3 separate regions of the Homo sapiens genome follow, and regions 1 and 3 are each linked to region 2. Evidence: promoter capture Hi-C in 16 types of primary human blood cells and fetal thymus (Javierre and others, 2016). All regions are on one chromosome and are shown on one strand. The core of a region is centred on a gene start or on the middle of the fragment in contact, and the rest is flanking DNA. Distances in the headings are between cores, read along the strand shown.

What was found. The method cuts DNA at HindIII sites, captures the fragments that hold promoters and counts their contacts. A CHiCAGO score of 5 or more calls a contact.
Region 1: a contact is called between a fragment that was not itself captured here and the fragment with the promoter of NAT9 in region 2, in 1 of 17 cell types (monocytes). The highest score is 6.5, in monocytes.
Region 3: a fragment that was not itself captured here is called in contact with the fragment with the promoter of NAT9 in region 2 in 1 of 17 cell types (neutrophils); the score reaches 5.3 in neutrophils.

Annotation. Positions count from the first base shown.
Region 1 is chr17:74,477,797-74,481,082 of GRCh38, forward strand. All of the region lies in intron 4 of CD300A (CD300a molecule), which reads left to right. Among named protein-coding and RNA genes, the nearest start is that of CD300A, 13 kb to the left of the region's middle. RefSeq lists enhancers at 1,140-1,219, 1,230-1,279. The HindIII fragment of the contact is 1,051 bases long and covers 824-1,874 here.
Region 2 is chr17:74,774,574-74,777,727 of GRCh38, forward strand. It overlaps NAT9 (N-acetyltransferase 9), which reads right to left and starts at 1,772. Exons shown (of 7, transcript NM_015654.5): 1 at 1,694-1,772; 2 at 1,049-1,134. The coding sequence starts at 1,125. SLC38A12 (solute carrier family 38 member 12) reads left to right here and starts at 1,926. Exons shown (of 10, transcript NM_017728.4): 1 at 1,926-2,004; 2 at 2,691-2,802. The coding sequence starts at 2,758. RefSeq lists an enhancer at 1,454-1,573. The HindIII fragment of the contact is 5,812 bases long and covers 1-3,154 here.
Region 3 is chr17:74,439,406-74,442,624 of GRCh38, forward strand. GPRC5C (G protein-coupled receptor class C group 5 member C) reads left to right here. Exons shown (of 4, transcript NM_022036.4): 2 at 340-1,422. The coding sequence starts at 372. Among named protein-coding and RNA genes, the nearest start is that of GPRC5C, 8.9 kb to the left of the region's middle. The HindIII fragment of the contact is 6,158 bases long and covers 1-3,219 here.

The sequences.
Region 1 (3,286 bases), core at 99-2,598, 300 kb before region 2:
TCTGTTTAAAACCCTGGCATGGTGTGCTGGGTGCAGTGGTGTGCATCTGTAGTTCCAGCTACTCAGGAGGCTGAGATGGGAGGATTGCTTGATCCCAGGAATTCAAGACCAGCCTGCGCAACACAACAAGGCTCCCGTGTCTATAAGATAAAATAAACCCTTGCATGGTCTCCCCCACCATAAAAAGTCCAGGTATCTACAGGAGTCACTGCCCTCCACGATCTGGCTCTACCCACCTCCCTCTCCCCATCCGCGCACCCTGGAAACCAACTTCTTGTATCTCCTTTAATGACAGCCTCAACCTCAGCCTCTCCTCTCCTTCTGGGTTTGCTCTGGGCTGGAGGGCCTCCCCTGCCCCCTCTCCCCAGCTCACTCCCAGTGGACTCCAACAGTGGTCCTCAGACTTTCTTTTCTCTGGGACCTTTTCTTTGACTCCAAAGAGTGGCTTGGGGCCCCTCCTGGCTATACCTCTGCTGTCACAGCCTTTTGGGAACCAGACTGTCATTGCTGGTGTCCTCATCTGCCTTCCCACAGGCATGTGCTTCAAGGAGGTACAGAACCAATATTTGTCAAATTAATGTGTTATTCAGTATCTCCAGCTGCAACGGGCACCCCAGGGGCCTCCAGGCAATCTCTAGTCCAGCTGCCCTCCTCTGAGCTCAGATTAAAAGAGAGAACAGGAACTCTTGGCACTCAGTAAGTAGATGCTCAATAAATAGCTGATAGGCAAATTGAATAAGCACAGGAACAGAGGAACAAGTGGAGGTGTGGCCACCAGTCCTCTAGATTGCAGATCCCTGGCCGAGGTCAAGTGTAAGCCTGAAGCTTCCTCCCTGTTCGGAGAGTTGAAGATTCCACAGGCAGAAGATTCTCAGGGGAATCTTTGTCCAAAGCCTTCCAAGACTGCAGTGAGACTGGGGTGGGAAGAGATGGGGTTATCCTGTCCCATAGCTGCAGGATAAGCTGCTGCATGCTTGGTGGGGGGCACTGCTCACACATATCCCCAGTGCCTCCTGTGGCGCCCAGGCTTTTGGCGGAGAAATCAGCCTCAGTAGATCTGTGCAGGGTGTATGGGAAGAAAACCACTTCCTCTTTCCCATCTGCTTTGTGTGTGTCATTTTCTGGTAATCCCATCCTAAACTTCAGCACCCACGTGGATGCCACTGGGTTGTCTCAGTTCTGAGCCCCTTTCGGTTTCCTTTGTGCCCTTTCACCCAGAAAGTCTCTGGCTCCTCAAAGAGCCTCCTCCCCCCTTGAAAAGGATGTATGTGATTATTGTAGGAAGTTTGAAAAATGAGCAAAAGCACAAAGAAGGAAATAAATCCCCCATCATCGATGATAACTAAAAACCCCACCACCTAGAGAAAACCAGCCACTGGCCCCTGAGGTATATCCTTCCAGTCTTTTTTTCTATGCCTATGTAAATGCATCTATGATTTCTTTTTTTTTCTCTTTTTTGAGACAGAGTCTCACTCTGTCACCCAGGCTGGCGTGCAGTGGCATGATCTTGGCTCACTCCAGCCTCGACCCCCCACTGCCCGGGGCTCCAGTGATCCTCCTGCCTTAGCCTCCCAAATAGCTGGGACTACAGGTGCTCACCACCACGTCTGGCTAATGGTTAAATTTTTTTTTTTAAGAGATGGGGTTTCACTATGTTGCCCAGCCTGGTCTTGAACTCCTGAGCTCAAGCCCAGAGTGCTGGGATTACAGATGTGAGCCACCACACCCAGTCATGCATCTGCGATGTCTTAACAAATTGGCCTCATACCACTCATTCTCTTTTAAACCTACATTTTTGCACTTAACATATGGTACCATGTTCCCAGCTAGTAAATGTTCTAAAAATCACAGACGCAGAGTTTACTGGTGTCTTAAGCTTCCTGTAACCCATCCTCAGTAACAAGATAAAGGCTTTCTATTCAAACATTTTTGACTCTCTGTCCCCTGCTTTGCAAGTCCGTGCCCCATCCCCTGACTGTGTGGCTGGGGCTGACTTCCCCTTGCCCTGCCTGGAGCCTGACACCTGCCTCATCACACCTACTCCCCACTCTTTCCCCCAGCCCACATTTGTCGTTCATTCATTCGTACAACAAAGCTGTCCTGAGCACCTACTGTGTGCCAGGCCTGTGCTGGGCCCTGGGGACAACATTGTGACTGGGGTAGACTGGGTCTTACCTTCAGTGAGCTTCCCCTACCGCTGGCTCCCCCAAACCTTCTCACTACCACCCTCCTTCCCGGGCGTTGAACTCCTGTCTCTTCCCCACCAGCTCTTTTTCTCCTTCCCATCAGAACACTTGTCCCAGGTGGGGACAGGGAGGGCAGTGTGGTGCCTGCGCACAGCACTTGGAAGCAGGGCACTTCGCACCCCAGAGTACCCGGCTGCGCACTCCATTAGGTCAGCTGTGGCTCAGCAAGCCCGTCACTATACGTGGTCTTGTGTCTCCCAACCGTGGGCTCCTCCCCTTTAATTCTGGGGGAGGAGCCCACAGATCCCCACAGCATCCAGTGCAGTGGGCTCTGGGGTTGCCTGGCTGTGGACCTAACCAAGGGCATCAGCAGCGTGTGTGTCACCCGCTGCCCACGTGGTCCGGGCTCCTGGGGTGAAAGGGTTAGGGTGTACAGGGCTGTGCTCATAGGCAGCACCCTTATAGAGCAGGTGCCAGCAGCCAAGGGCTGTGTGAGCCTGAGCTGGCGTCCCTGGGGCTGACAGGCCTCCTTCCCTACGGCCTGGGGCAGCAGGCAGGTGGGCTGTCTGGGAGGGCAGACCTCAGGCACGGGGATGGGAGCAGAGGCCCCAGCAACTTCCCACAGTCTGATGCAGCCCTAAGCCCCAGATGCACAGGGCTTTTCAGTGGCATCCTTCCTCCCCTGGAAACATTTGTGTGAGATCCCGTGTTGAGAGCTTGTTTTGGTCCCTCTCCTCCAGCTGGGAGCTTTCTTTCCTTTCTTTCTTTCTTTTTTTCGTTTTTGAGACAGAGTCTTGCTCTGTTGCCCAGGCTGGAGTGCAGTGGCATGATCTCAGCTCACTGCAACCTCCGTCTCCCAGGTTCAAGCGATTCTCCTGTCTCAGCCTCCCAAGTAGCTGGGACTACAGGGCGTGTGCCACCATGCCCAGCTAATATTTGTATTTTTAGTAGAGACAGGGTTTCACCCTATTGGCCCGGCTGGTCTCGAACTCCTGACCTCAAGTGATCTGCCCTCCTCGGCTTCCCAAAGCACTGGGATTACAGGCGTGAGCCACCGCACCCGGCCCAGCTGGAATCTTTCTATTTCTCCATTTATTCAC
Region 2 (3,154 bases), core at 522-3,021:
GGAGTCTCGATCTGTCACCCAGGCTGGAGTGCAGTGGCGCGATCTCGGCTCACTGTAAGCTCCGCCTCCCGGGTTCACACATTCTCCTGCCTCAGCCTCCCGAGTAGCTGGGACTACAGGCGCCCGCCACCACATCCGGCTAATTTTTTTGTATTTTTAGTAGAGACGGGGTTTCACCATGTTAGCCAGGATGGTCTCGCTCTCCTGAGCTTGTGATCCGCCTGCCTCGGTCTCCCAAAGTGCTGGGATTACAGGCGTGAGCCACTGCGCCCAGCCTTTATTTTATTTTATTTTATTTTTGAGACAAAGTCTCACTCTGTTGCCCAGGCTGGAGTACAGTGGTGTGATCTCGGCTCACCACAACCTCCACCTCCCTGGTTCAAGTGATTCTCCTGCCTCAGCCTCCCAAGTAGCTGGAATTACAGGTGCCGGGCAACAAGCCCAGCTAATTTTTTGTGTTTTTAGTAGAGATGGCGTTTTATCATGTTGGCCAGGCTGGTCTTGAACTACTGACCTCATGATCCACCCGCCTCAGCCTCCCAAAGTGCTGGGATTACAGGCGTGAGCCACCGCACCCGGCCGTTTTTTTGTTTTTGTTTGTTTTTGTTTTTTTGTTTTTTTTGTTTTTTTTTGAGACAGGTTCTTGCTCTGTCACCCAGGCTGGAGTACAGTGGTACAATCACAGCTCACAGCAGTCTTCATCTCCTGGGCTCAGGCAATCCTCCCACCTCAGCCTCCCTAGTAGCTGGGACTGCAGCTGTGCACCACCATGCCTGGCTAATTTTTGTATTTTTTTGTAGAGACAAGGTCTCGCTACGTTACCCAAGCTGGTCTCGAACTGCTGGGCTCAAGCAATCCTCCTGCCACAGCCTCCCAAAGTCCTGGAATTACAGGCGTGAGCCACGGCACCCAGCCTTTTTTCCCCCCTCATATATAATTATTTCTCACAACCAATGTTTCTTCTTAGGGGAAATAGCCCTGAGACTGGGGCTGTACCTTACACAGCTCTGGGTGCTGATACGCACCCCATGTCAAGCGGGAAAGATACCTGGGCACATGCTCCGAGGTGTAGGGTACAAGGACCACCTTCTTCCCCAGCAGCAAGGTGTTCTGATTCAACCTCATGGTAGCAGCCTGCATGCAGATGGGGAGAGCAAAGACTTCAGGACCCTGAATTTCCTCCAACTTTGGGTAGGCGCTCCAGCTTTCCTGCTGGGGCTAAGTTGACTTCCGTCATTAGTTCCGTCTAGACACTTCAAAGAATACAGACTCCAAAATTCTTGCAAGAAAGAGAACCAGGCTGGTTAAGGATAATTAAACAATCCTTGACTCCCACTCCAAGAGGCCAAGCCTGGGCTCCGTTTCTGCCGGTTCCTTCCGTCCACTCCCCAGAACTTCGATTCCTCAAACCCAAGCACCAAGTACCAAGTACCAAAGTATCCCCAGAGCTCCCATTACTTGCCCCAGTCCAGGGATTCCAACCCAGAATCAACTTTCAGCCCTGCCTTAAACCTACTTCCAACCTCTTACCCCGGCGACCACCCCACGGGGCTCTAGCCACTCCCTCCCCGCCCCCGACCACTTCAGGGCAAGGCGGGCTTAGTCTTAGGCCCTCCCCTTTGAGTGGCGTTCTAGACCACTCTCTTCGACCCTCCAACCACGCGGACCCGGGTACTGCCAAGCTCACACCCACCTACCACCGACGAAATCGTCCCCCGCAGAAAGGGTGATCTACCTCCTCCAACCAGCCACGTTCCCAGGCCCGGCCGGCTACCGCCCCTTCCGCATGCGCGTGAGAACGCGCCCCGCCCACTTCCGCCATGCTGACGGCAGCCGCCAGGCCCCAATCCCGGTCCCGCCCCCGCGAGGCGCCCAATCAGCGCGCGCGAAAAAGGTGGGCTGTGGGGCCGGCGCATGCGCGCTGCGGAAGCTGGTGCTGGACAGCTGGCGCCGGCAGCAGCGGACCGGCGGGAGACGGCGGCTTGGGAGCTGGCTGTGCTGCAGGTGTTGGGTCGGGTCGGGTCGGGACGGGCGGGAGAGGACGAGACGGGTCGGGATAGGTTGGGGCGGGGCGGGGCGGCACTAGACTCGGGACTCCTCCAGGAGGGAGAGAGAGGGAGAGGCTGGGAGTGGGGTTCTTGAGAAAAGAGGGAGCTTTGAGGGTGGGGAACCCTAAGAGAGTAGGTGGGGCCAGGGAGTGGAGGCCCCATTAAAAAAAGGAGGCCTTAGTGCCAAGAGTGGAGTTGGAAGGGCAATGTAGGAAAGCCCCCAGCTCCCTGCCCTAGGCAGAGGCGGCAGACAGTTCCTTGGGCTCCCATGTGTGGTAGTGAGCTCCTGGTTCCTGGAACTAAACGAGGATAACCACCCCAGAGCGTGGAAAGGGGGCTCTTGTGGTGGGTGAGACTTAGTGGTTTTAGAGGCCCCTTAAATCACTTGCACCCCGAGCAGCATTGAAAACATCCGTGCTGGGCACAGAGCAGTGCCCTGCACAGCAAGGGAAATGTTAGAAGAAACCGTCCAGATTTCTGTCATCCAGGGTGACCCCTCCCTCGGGGGTGAGTCTTGTGACAGATACTGAGGCCCTAAGTGTCTGTGATAAAAGAACCAGAGGTGGCAGGGGAAGTCTGCAAGCCTCCTCCCACCCCTGTCTCAGTCCATCAGATAGGTGAAGCCTGCTCTTTTGTTTTAAGGAGCTGCGGCAGCCGCCGTCCTTGCACCTAAGGAACCTCTGCTGCCAGCCCTTCCTCACTTTTGGAAATGGCGGGTGAAATTACAGAGACCGGGGAACTCTACTCTTCCTACGTGAGTGTGACTTATAGAACCTTTTGCTCACTTAAGTGTTCCTGGCTTCTAGAAAAGCACATTGCTTGCTGGAGATGGGACTAGTGAGTGCTGCTGCTTGAGCAGACCATAGTGGAAGCAGGATGGGGGAGTTCCATGGGGCAGCGACTACAGTGCTGCTGTGGTGGCTCAGAATGTAAGTCAGATTTATTCTCTTTTTAAGGTGTTTGTCAGAGTGGTCAAGCCAAACAAAATCGCCATGCTGTTTATAATGTTAATCCCGGGCTGGGCACGGTGGCTCACGCCTGTAATCCCAGCACTTTGGGAGGCTGAAGCGGGCAGATCACCTGAGGTCAGGAGTTCAAGACCAGCC
Region 3 (3,219 bases), core at 299-2,798, 340 kb before region 2:
CACAAGCCCCTTCATCCTCCACCGTGGCCGCCAGAGCTCAGGGAATATCTGAACCCAGGTTATGTTTGGTGGAAGGGAGGGAACTGAAAATTCAATGACAGGTTTTTCTTTTGCCATGGCTAGGAATAGGGCTGACAAATGGGCTTCATCTCATTTGCCTCTGTGGCCAGTTGAAATGCCTCTCAGGGGTTCTATGTTAAGAAGGATTCTGAGGTCCAGAGAGCCTCACGGTCAGCAGCTAGCACTATCTGCCTGGGTTTAGGTTGGGGGAAGCAGCACCATGTATATTGGAGTCTGATCTTGGAGGACTAATTTTGTCCCTTTTCCTTCTGTCTCTAGGGACCCAACCAGAGCCTGGCCTGGGAGCCAGGATGGCCATCCACAAAGCCTTGGTGATGTGCCTGGGACTGCCTCTCTTCCTGTTCCCAGGGGCCTGGGCCCAGGGCCATGTCCCACCCGGCTGCAGCCAAGGCCTCAACCCCCTGTACTACAACCTGTGTGACCGCTCTGGGGCGTGGGGCATCGTCCTGGAGGCCGTGGCTGGGGCGGGCATTGTCACCACGTTTGTGCTCACCATCATCCTGGTGGCCAGCCTCCCCTTTGTGCAGGACACCAAGAAACGGAGCCTGCTGGGGACCCAGGTATTCTTCCTTCTGGGGACCCTGGGCCTCTTCTGCCTCGTGTTTGCCTGTGTGGTGAAGCCCGACTTCTCCACCTGTGCCTCTCGGCGCTTCCTCTTTGGGGTTCTGTTCGCCATCTGCTTCTCTTGTCTGGCGGCTCACGTCTTTGCCCTCAACTTCCTGGCCCGGAAGAACCACGGGCCCCGGGGCTGGGTGATCTTCACTGTGGCTCTGCTGCTGACCCTGGTAGAGGTCATCATCAATACAGAGTGGCTGATCATCACCCTGGTTCGGGGCAGTGGCGAGGGCGGCCCTCAGGGCAACAGCAGCGCAGGCTGGGCCGTGGCCTCCCCCTGTGCCATCGCCAACATGGACTTTGTCATGGCACTCATCTACGTCATGCTGCTGCTGCTGGGTGCCTTCCTGGGGGCCTGGCCCGCCCTGTGTGGCCGCTACAAGCGCTGGCGTAAGCATGGGGTCTTTGTGCTCCTCACCACAGCCACCTCCGTTGCCATATGGGTGGTGTGGATCGTCATGTATACTTACGGCAACAAGCAGCACAACAGTCCCACCTGGGATGACCCCACGCTGGCCATCGCCCTCGCCGCCAATGCCTGGGCCTTCGTCCTCTTCTACGTCATCCCCGAGGTCTCCCAGGTGACCAAGTCCAGCCCAGAGCAAAGCTACCAGGGGGACATGTACCCCACCCGGGGCGTGGGCTATGAGACCATCCTGAAAGAGCAGAAGGGTCAGAGCATGTTCGTGGAGAACAAGGCCTTTTCCATGGATGAGCCGGTTGCAGGTGGGTCTCTGTGGATGCCCCCAGTGGCCCCTTTCTCCATCCCATGTCTTTTACTGCAGGACAGGGAGCCAGTCTCTTGAGCAAAATGGAAAGTTTTTGAGGTTTTCTGTAGTTTTCTGCCTAAGTGTCTCTAAATTCCATTTAATTTAAAGATTTTTTTTTTTCAGTTGGGCATGGTAGATCATGCCTGTAATCCTAGCACTTTGGGAGGCCAAGGCGGGTGGATCACTTGAGACGAGGAGTTCGAGACCAGCCTGATCCACATGGTGAAACCCCGTCTCTACTAGAAATCCAAAAAAATTAGCTGGGTGTGCTGGCTCATGCCTGTGATCTCAGCTACTCGGGAGGCTGAGGCGGGAGAATCACTTGAACCTGGGAGGCGGAGGTTGCAGTGAGCCAAAATCGAGCCACTACACTCCAGCCTGGGTGACAGAGCAAGACTCCATCTCAAAATAAATAAATAAATAAGATTTTTTTTCTATATTCATATAATTCATGCATACATTCTCACTGTAAAATTTCAAACATTACAGATAAAATGAAATTTTCCCCAGCTGCCTCCCCAGTCCTACCCGTCCCATCCTGTTCCATCCCCAGAAGTGACCACTATTGACTGATATAATATCTATGTGCCTTTGTTTCTCCATTTGTAAAATGGGGATAATGTCAGTACCTATTTCATAGGGTTCTTGTGAGGATTGAATTAATTAGTGCCGGCTGGGCGCCATGGCTCACACCTGTAATCCCAGCACTTTGGGAGGCTGAGGTGAGTGGAGCTTGAGCCTAGGAGTTTGAGACCGGCCTGGACAACATAGTGAGGCCCCGTCTCTACAAATAATTTCAAAAATTAGCCAGGTGTGGTAGTGCATGCCTATGGTCCCAGCTCCTCAGGAGGCTGAGGCAGGAGGATTGCCTGAGCCCAGGAGGTTGAGGCTTCAGTGAGCCGTGATTGCACCACCACATTCCAGCCTGGATGATCTCAAAAAAAAAAAAAATTACTTAGTGCCCGGCCCATGAAAAGCACTCTTGAAGAATTAGCTATTTGCTGTGTGTGCGTGTCTATTATTTTACATATTTTACTAATACTATCCTTCCAGAACTTGTTTTTCTATTATGTATGTATCCATAATCACCTTAGTTTTCTTTAAAAGGAAGTATTTTTCAGGTAATTTTTTTCTCTTTTTTTATTTTTTGAGACGGAGTCTCGCTCTGTCACCCAGGCTGGAGTACAGTGGTGTGATCTTGGCTCACTGCAACCTCCGCCTCCCGGGCTCAAGAGATTCTCCTGCCTCAGCCTCCCAAGTAGCTGGGATTACAGGCACGTGCCACCACACCTGGCTAATTTTTGTATTTTTAATAGAGACGGGATTTCACTATGTTGGCCAGGCTGGTCTCGAACTGCTAACCTCAAGTGATCCGCCTGCCTCGGCATCCCAAAGTGCTGGGATTACAGGTGTGAGCCACTGCACCTGGCCTTTTTCTCTTTTTAATAAAAGTATTTGGGGTGCCGTGTAGTGGTCTCAGCAGCGCCCTTGTTAGCTGTACAGCCCACTAGCATTTCCTCAGCACCTGCTCTGTGCCAGCCCCTGTGCTAATCCCCTTACCGATGTGGCCCATTGCACGCATCCCACCTGCTCTTCCTCAGCCTGCTGGCTGCAGCCCCTCATCTGACATGACCTGGAAATTTGGGGGTGCCATCTCAAAGTCCTGACCCTGCCCCCAGACTGTGCTGATCTGGAGGCCTGGGGGCTTCAGACTTTCTTAACTGCCCGGTTAACAAGCACCGGCTCTGGGGTC